Regions from separate parts of the Homo sapiens genome. Here regions 2 and 3 are each linked to region 1. The links are contacts of gene promoters, found by promoter capture Hi-C in blood cells and fetal thymus (Javierre and others, 2016). All regions are on one chromosome and are shown on one strand. The core of a region is centred on a gene start or on the middle of the fragment in contact, and the rest is flanking DNA. Distances in the headings are between cores, read along the strand shown.

Region 1 (2,769 bases), core at 1-2,500:
GAGGACACAGCCTGAAGAAGTGTACCTGCCAGCAGGAGAAGAGGCAGGTCAGGACTCAGGTGGCCAGCCACCCTCAGCCCTGGGCACTCACACATGTAAGGGGCCAGCCCTAAGGGCCGCTATTCGCTGAGACCATGAGGAGGGGAGCAGGACCCTCGGAGGCCACAAGTCACACAGGCCGTCCTGGTAAAGTGAGAAACCTGAGGGTGGAAAAGAGCAGCAGGACAGGCCCTGGAGAGGAGGCTAGGGGCTGCTGCCTGGGTACCCTCCCCCAAGCCCTTCTCCCGGCCCCTAACCGGTCCAACAGGAACTTGGCGAGCTGCGAGTGCAGGGAGAAGCCCAGCCGCTCCTTGAGGAGGCACCACTGCTCCATGTGGCCGCCCAGGCGGATGCGGCACTTGCTGCGGCGCGCGTCCAGCTGCCGCCGCTTCTCCCGCCGCCTGCAGGACACGTCCACCGCCGGGGAGGAAGCCATGTGCACCAGAGGCTGGAGGGTGGAAGGGACGTCTTCAGCGCCCTGCCGATCTCGGGGGTCGGGGACCCGGCTCCACCTGCCGTTAGGGCCTCAGTTTCCTCATCAGTGAACTGGGGCAAGACTAAACTATTTCAATAGCAGTGGCAGGTGTGGAGCCAAACCCCGTCCTTCTATGATACAGGGTGTTGAAGCTCAGCGCTACCATGTGAGTGTCGTCGGGTGGGAGGCAGGCAGACAGAAGCAGTCAGAACAAAGGCCTGCGCCCTCCAGTCCACTGAAGTGGAGCTGTGGGGAAGGGGCGAGAGACTTTCACGGGAAATTTCAACTGGGCTGGGGGCGGTCCACACATTTCATCTTGAATAGGGCAGCGGCCTTTACTGGTTTCTAGGGGAAGGAAAGGTCGTGTCCTGGCGTGCAGCTGGGGGCGCTCTTCATAGTTGGGTCGAGTGGCGGTGAGGCCGTGGTCAGAGGTCTGGAGGGCGCCCCCCATCCACCCCGTCTTGGGCACCCCCACTTAATGCTGACAGTGAGTGGAGCGGACTAATCCCAATGGCAGTTCCCAGGCTGCCCAGAGCCCCCGTCGCGACCCACCCCCACCCCGGCCTTACCTGTGCGCCCCCACGCGCCCTCACCCCCACTGCGCCTGCGCCTGCGCCTCCCGGGCCTAGCGAGCAGGCCCGGAGCTGCTGGAAGACAGGGGCCCACCTCGCGCGCGCAGCGTTTCTCTTTTAAGAAGAAACGGTGCCTCTCGGCGTCGGCTGCTGTAGCCCGGAACTGAGGCCCGCGCCCCAGAGGGAGGGGCGAGTCGGAGGCCGACGCCGTGCGCCTGCGCACTGGGTGCCCCGCGCAACGCCCGCCGGGAATCGTGGTTGCCCGACTCAAGTCGCCCGCGCGTGTCGCGGAGCCCCGCGGCAGTTGTGGTTGGGTGGCTTCTGTGGTGAGCGTCTGCGCTTGGTGACCAAAGGTTTGAGGGAAAGTGGAAGAGACAGGGTCAGGCCTCCTGTGCTCCAACCCCAGCCCACCCGGCCTGTATGGGGACGTTGCCTCTTCACTTGTTCCCGTTTTGTATTCACCTTCGATTTCCCCCTCACAGTTGCCACCCGCAAACATGATGCAGAATCAGTCACTTTGAAAGACCCACAGAGGGTCCAGCTAGAGCCCTCTGTGGACCGCAGAGTCCCACCAGCTACAGCCCACTTCTATTACCATCAGAATTCCTCCTAAAAGTTGCCTGCATTCTCTGTGTACGCTCACTTCCCATCCTCTTCTCTTCAAATGGCTCTGATGGAGCTTTCCTCCCCACCCAGCCACTGCAGTGGCGCTTCACAAGGTCACTTGAGACGGTCATATTGCTACATAGCAGCTGTCAGTTCCGTCCGCCTCTCTGCCCTAGAAAGAGCGCGACTATGTAGCTCTCGTCCTCCTCATCTTTATGGCTCCCTCTACATTTTGGGCCCCAGTTTTACTTCTGTGACTTCATATGCTCCAGGTTTTCCACCCTCCTCACTGGCTCCTTCTATCCTTTTTTTGGATCCATTCCCTCTGTTCTGCCAAAAGATGAAGTGTGCCCTGGCTCAGGCCTTGAACCAGATCTTCTCTCGTCTGCATATGTTCTCCTGGGTGATCTAATTAGTTCCATGGCTTTAAATACACTGATGGCTCCTAGCCTAGCCCTCTTTCAACTCCAGTCATATATCTTACTGCCCGCTTGACTTACATGTGTTAACTGAGCTAACACGTGTAAAGAATGTAGGACAGTGCCTGGCATGTAGAGAGCGCTGACACATGATAGCTGATATTTTCTCCAACATAAATATGGCAAACATATAACAATAACGCCTGTACCCTCCCCCATGCCAGTAAACTATGTCATCATCCACCCACTTGTTCAGAAAAAAGGGAATCAGCCTTGATTCTTTGCCTTTTATGATACCTAAACCATATACATCAGCAAATCTTGTTGGTCCTGTCTCCAAAAATTTATCTTAAATCCAATCACTTCTGACCCTCTCAACTGCTAAAACCCTACTCCAAGCCACTGGTATTAATTTTCTGTAATTGTTGTAACAAATTGTGTTGTGTGTTGTTTTCAGCCACAAACTTGCTCCCTTTACTCAAATTTATTTTCTCACAGTTCTGGAGGCCAAGGCATCAGCAGGGCCACAGGCCATTGTAAGGGCTCTAGGGGAGAATCCTTTCCTTGCTTCTTCTAGCTTCTAATGGTGGCCAGCATTCTCTGACTTGTGGCCACGTCACTCCAATCTCTGTCTCTGAGGTCACATTGCCTCCTTCTG
Region 2 (2,925 bases), core at 129-2,628, 67 kb after region 1:
GTGCCACACAAATATAAATGGGTGTCTCTGCCCTCTAGTGGATTCTGGCAGGCACTGGGAGCAAATGTGACTATAAAAAAAGTGAAAGATGTAAAAAATACACATTATCTCCAGAGGGGATTTAATTCTAACGGAGGGCTTTTTTTTTTCTTTTTCAAATGGGCTGATGGGTAAAAATGCAAGACTGGATATGTTGGAAAAAAGCACATTGCATTTGCCTTTTGGCATCTGTGATGACTGAGTCCTTCCTCAGCGCTGCCACAGGGAGCACATTCACACGTGTGTCACACAAATACCAAGGTTAGGTCAAAAAACCAAGTGTTACCTGGAGGAAGCCACAAAGACTATGAGACCAAGACCTCACCTAGAAGACACTTGATAGTTCAGAAGCCGAGATCCTGCGAGGTGTCTCAGAGAGCTCAGCTGTGACCCCGCACTGTATGGAAGGGCGGGCAGTGGGGCCCAGGCAGGGGAAGAGAATTGTCCACTGTTGAGCATCATCATTCTAAAACCCACATGTAATGCTATTGCTGCAAAACCGCTGACTGTTGAAGCCACAAACCACAGAAACAGACTCCCTTTATGGTCCTCACTGTGCAACCGGTGGCTTTTCAGAAGATGAAGATTCAACATATTAATCATAAATTCAAAGCATCAGAAGAAATACTAGGATATTTTCTAACCTCTGCTACCATGACTTTTTTTTTTTTTTTTTGGCGAGATTCGTGAATTATTGTAAATAAGTTCACAGAGGCCAAAGTGCTCCCCTGAAGTCATCCAGGAAGAGGCAGGCTGCTAATCCCCACATCTGAGACATCTGTGTTTTCTTAGGATAATAAGGGAAAGAGAGAGGGACAGAAATAGACAGACAGAGAATTGGAGCTAAGAGGAAACATTTTCAGATTTTGCCCCCCAAAATTCCCAGTGAACATTCCCATTGCCAGCGGGGGAGTTCCAAGGCCCTGGCTCCAGGATCCTGCTCTTTCCTTTGGTGACTCCTGTACAGATTTGGCATAGAAACAATATGGAACTTGTTACACTTCTCTGGACAAGTCATTATGCTTTTGGCTCACAGGCTCCACTTCTCTGGACACCCCTTCACCCTAAGCTTCAAGTAATTCAGCTTCACCCTTCAGAGAAGAGCTCAGCTGTCACTTCCTCTAAGGACCCTCCCCAGCCGCCTCTCCAGCAGAAGGGCCTCCACCTTGCTTTTTGCACATCTGTCCCTCGAGGTGCTGCTGTTCTCTGTGGAGCTGAAAAAAGGTGGTGATGCCCTGAAATTCAGCAAACTGCAGGGACACGTGTTGTTCTACCCCAGGTCAGAGTGTGTCGGTCATCACTTGATGCCACTCACAGACCACCAACTTCAGAATATCTAGGTGTAAAGCTCTGTACAAAAGTTGTAACATAATAATGTAAATAATTTTACATTATTATTAATAAATTATATTACACTATTACATAATGTAAAGGCTATTAAAACATATTTGTCTTCAAAGAATGGCCTTGGTTTCTGTGGGCAGTGTCTCCTTATGGAAAGGTAGTGCATTCCTGCTAAGTCATGGACAAAATGGGCCTCCAGGAGCTGCAAGCTGTAGTAGCAGCTTCTCGTCTACGTCCTTCACTGCATGATACTGTTGTTGACTTTGAAAGCTTCTTTTGGTCTAGTTTTATCAACAGAGCTAGTATTTCATGAAGATCTACTGCATACCAGGTTCCAGAAAGCTAAATGCCTTTTGTTTGTTATTACTCACTAAACACAAACCACAACTCTCTTCTCATTACTCACACAACAAAATTTAGCTGAGGAAGATGGAGTGACTTTCCCAGGGTCGCACAGCTACTAAGAGCAGAGTCGTGTTTAGATTCATGTGGGAATACTGAACACTGAAATGAACCAGCAGAAATATCCTATGTTCCAAAAGCCTACTCAAGCCATATGTTCTTATTTTAAGGAAAATCTTTATGCTAATTTTAAACTCCAAATACCTATGAATGGCAGAGATCTACAGATTTGATTCTGATATAAGAGATGATGCTCACCAGCTGGTTACTGCTACCACCCCACAACCCCGAGCATACTGGACAAATGTCTCAGCCTCGTGGTTAGTGGAGACAATGATAGTGGAGTCTGAAGTTGTCATGCAGTGACTCATGCAAGCTTAGGCAGATTTGGTGATATATGGCACAGAGATGCAAAGAAATGCTGTAGCTGACACACAAAGGCTGGCTCTGGGAGATGCAGAAGGAGTATGTCGCCCAAAATAGAGCCAGACAGACATCCTTAAGGAAGGAGCAAAGGGGCTGCATCTTAAAGAATGAAGAAGAGATTTGTCATGAGAGATGGGACAGGGAGTTCTTGAGAGGCAGAGGGAGAGCATGAGAATGTCGGGAAGGGAGGAGAGATTCTCGCACATCTGGGAAGCTGACAATCCATCAGCATGGCCAGAAGGAAAATAAGGAGGAGGAGCAGAAATAATAGATGATGCTGGATATAGAAGCAGGGCTGAAGCTGTGTCGATTGTGGTAGAGTTGTGATTCTATGCAGAAGGCAATAGGTAGCATTCTAAACAGAGATCTTTTAAAACAAGAGTCAGCAAATATTTTCTGCAAAGGGCTAAATGTTAAATATTTTAAGTTTTCCAAGCCATGTGGTCCCTCTCTCAATGACTCAGCTCTTCCATTATACCATGAAAGTAGCCAGAGACATTATATAACACATGTATGTGGCTGTGTCACATTACAACTTTACTTACAAACGCAGACTGTGTCAGACATGGCCCATGCATGGTAGTTTACCACACCCTGTTTTAGAAAGCTCAGGTTTATGATGTGTTAGAGAATGCCTACAAGAGCTCTTGTTTTAAATGGTAGAGTGAACATACACTGGAATTCTATCCTGCTTCACCCAAGGTCTTGATAGAG
Region 3 (2,785 bases), core at 102-2,601, 120 kb before region 1:
CTTTTGTGGTTTCATATGAATTTAATTGCTTTTTCTATATCTGTGAAGAATGTCATTGGTATTTTGATAAGGATTGCATTGAATCTGTAGATTGCTTTGAGTAGTACAGACACTTTAACAATATTAATTCTTCCAGTCTATGAACACGGGATATCTTTTCATTTTTTTTTTCTGTGCCCTCTTTAAGTTCTTTCATTAGTGTTTTATAGTTTTCATTGTAGAGCTCTTTCAACTCTGGTTAAATTCATTTCTAGGTTTTTTTTTTTGTAGTCATTATGAATTAAACTGCTTTCTTGATTTTTTCAGATTGTTCACTATTAGCAAATAGAAATGCTACTGATTTTTGCGTGTTGAATTTGTAGCCTCCAACTTTACTGAGTTCATTTAGCAATTCTAACAGTTTTTGGCGTATTCTTAAGGTTTTTCTAAATATAAGATCATGTCATCTGCAAACAAGGACAATTTGACTTATTTTTTTTTCTTCTTTTTATTTGAGATGGAGTCTCGATCTGTCACCCAGGCTGGAGTGCAGTGGCGCCATCTTGGCTCACTGCAAGCTCCACCTCCTGGGTTTATGCCATTCTCCTGCCTCAGCCTCCCGAGTAGCTGGGACTACAGGCGCCCACCACCATGCCTGGCTAATTTCTTTGTATTTTTTAGTAGAGACGGGGTTTCACCATGTTAGCCAGGATGGTCCCGATCTCCTGACCTCGTGATCTGCCTGCCTCAGCCTCCTAAAGTGCTGGGATTACAGGCATGAGCCACTGCATCCGCCTGACTTATTTTTTTTCTATTTTGAATGTCCTTTATTTCTTTCTCTTGTCTAATTGCTTGGGCTAGAACTTTCAGTACTGCATTGAATAAAAGTGGTGACAGTGAACATCCTTGTCTTGTACCAGATCTTAGAGGAAAAGCTGGATGTTAGTTGGATGTTAACTGTGGATTTGTCATGTATTACCTTGATTGTTTTGAGGTGTGTTCCTTCTATACCCCATTTGTCAAGGGTTTATCATGAAAAGATGATGAATGTATGTTAAGTGAAATAAGCCAGGCATGAAAAGACAAATATTCCATGTTTTCACTCATGTGGGAGCTAACAAAGTTTATCTCATGGATATAAAGAGTAGAATGGAGATTAACGGAGATTAGTTAAGGTGGGGGGAGGTAGGAATAAAGAGAGGTTGGTTAATGGGTAACAAAAATACATTTCAATAGAAGGACTAAGTCCTTGTGTTCAACAGCACAGTGGGCTATAATTTTTGTATTTCAAAATAGCTAAAGAGGAAGATTTGTGATGTTCCCAATACAAAAAAATTGATAAAAGTCTGAGGTGACGAATATCCCAATTACCTGGATTTGATCATTATATATTATATGCATGTATCAAAATATCACATGTACCCCATAAATATTATATGCACAATTATTATATATATATTGAAAATGTACATTGAAGACACATAGTGATAAGTGGTTTTTACTTTGGTTCAATTTATATTTCAGATTAAAGGTTATTTGGAGATTTAGTTCAAGAAACTTTTAGCTCAGACGTGCTAAACCCAGTCTTGAGCACAAAGAAAGGAACCCTACACCCTCCTTTTGTCTTCCTGGCTGAGGCAGTGAGAAGGGGTCAAAAGGGCTTGGGGGTCTGATGGAAACAGTACCTTATCCTAACCCCTTCCATGAGGCAGAATTGTTGCTGGGAAAATCTGACCCCTGGGGACTATTCTGCCTGTTGTCTTGAGCCTGGGTGTTGCTGAGTGAATGCTGAACTCAATGGGTTGTGAGCAGGGTGTTGCCTGTCATTTCAGGAGGGGAGAGTGGAGATGCCTGGGGCTAGCGTGGAGTGAGCTGCGTAGCAGCCCAGGGGAACTACTGGAGAGGCTTTCATGTCTTCACTGGGGTGGAGGGTAGTTACAAGGGCAAGTTTGGTGATACCCATCAGACTGCACACATACATTTTATTGTATGTAAATCCTGCCTAAAATGTGATTGTGTATACAATTTCATTCTAAATAAAATAAACCAACATGGGCAAAAGAACTTTACAAATTTTAAAGTACTGTGGAAAGACAAGGCCACTGTCATTAGTCCAGCCACACAGTGTGAGTGTAGAATTCTGTGGAGTTTCTCAGATATGGGGGCTTATCCTAGACCCCAGGCTGGGTCTAATGAAGAATTGCCAGTAAGGGGCTTTAGCTTAGGTGCAAAGTATGAGACCCGGCTCAGGGGCCAGAGGACAGGAGTCTAGAGTTAAGCATGAAGAGCCAGGAGGAAAAAAAGGTAGACACACGGGCAGGAGTGGCACTCTGCTCAATTCCCTGCTCTGGGTAAGGAGGTGGGAGCCAGTAATGCAAATGGAAGTACATTAGGGTACTAGTTTATACTCCATTAATGGGATGAAAAGCATCTACCCCTGGGCAGTACCCACTACTTCTGTTTAACTTTCTTGCTGCCCTGTCTTTCTACCTTCATCCTGCAGTCTAGGCAATCTTCCCAGAATGGAAACCCAATCCACTCTTACTATCTCACTTAACTATACATTGACTCCCCATGGCCTTCAATCTAAAGCCAGAGTCATCTACAATGCTGTGGAGGCCTCCTGGGCTCTGGTCCTACTTGTCCTTCAGGCAGGCTCCCATGTGACCCTTTGCAGTTCCCCAAACATGTCGCTGCTTCCTCACATCAACGTGGAGCACTGGGGCTTCCAGAAGATTTTAAGAACCAGTTAGCTGGTAGTTCAGACAATGCAGATGAGAGGCAGAGAAGCCCCCACTGCGTTCTG

What was found. Contacts are between HindIII fragments. The CHiCAGO score rates a contact against its expected background, and 5 or more counts as called.
Region 2: a fragment that was not itself captured here is called in contact with the fragment with the promoter of ZNF692 in region 1 in 2 of 17 cell types (erythroblasts and fetal thymus); the score reaches 7.5 in erythroblasts.
Region 3: a contact is called between a fragment that was not itself captured here and the fragment with the promoter of ZNF692 in region 1, in 5 of 17 cell types (neutrophils, M2 macrophages, monocytes and 2 more). The highest score is 13.3, in neutrophils.

The regions. Positions count from the first base shown.
Region 1 is chr1:248,857,835-248,860,603 of GRCh38, forward strand. ZNF692 (zinc finger protein 692) reads right to left here and starts at 1,251. Exons shown (of 12, transcript NM_017865.4): 1 at 1,084-1,251; 2 at 297-487; 3 at 1-25. The coding sequence starts at 475. It overlaps ZNF692-DT (ZNF692 divergent transcript), which reads left to right and starts at 1,330. Exons shown (of 3, transcript NR_186117.1): 1 at 1,330-1,412. RefSeq lists enhancers at 56-135, 736-785, 1,586-1,735 and a silencer at 946-1,445. The HindIII fragment of the contact is 15,686 bases long and covers 1-2,769 here.
Region 2 is chr1:248,924,873-248,927,797 of GRCh38, forward strand. It overlaps a transcript of PGBD2 not described here. Among named protein-coding and RNA genes, the nearest start is that of PGBD2, 20 kb to the left of the region's middle. RefSeq lists a silencer at 471-640. The HindIII fragment of the contact is 545 bases long and covers 1,107-1,651 here.
Region 3 is chr1:248,734,523-248,737,307 of GRCh38, forward strand. No RefSeq gene overlaps it. Among named protein-coding and RNA genes, the nearest start is that of LYPD8, 20 kb to the right of the region's middle. The HindIII fragment of the contact is 3,366 bases long and covers 1-2,785 here.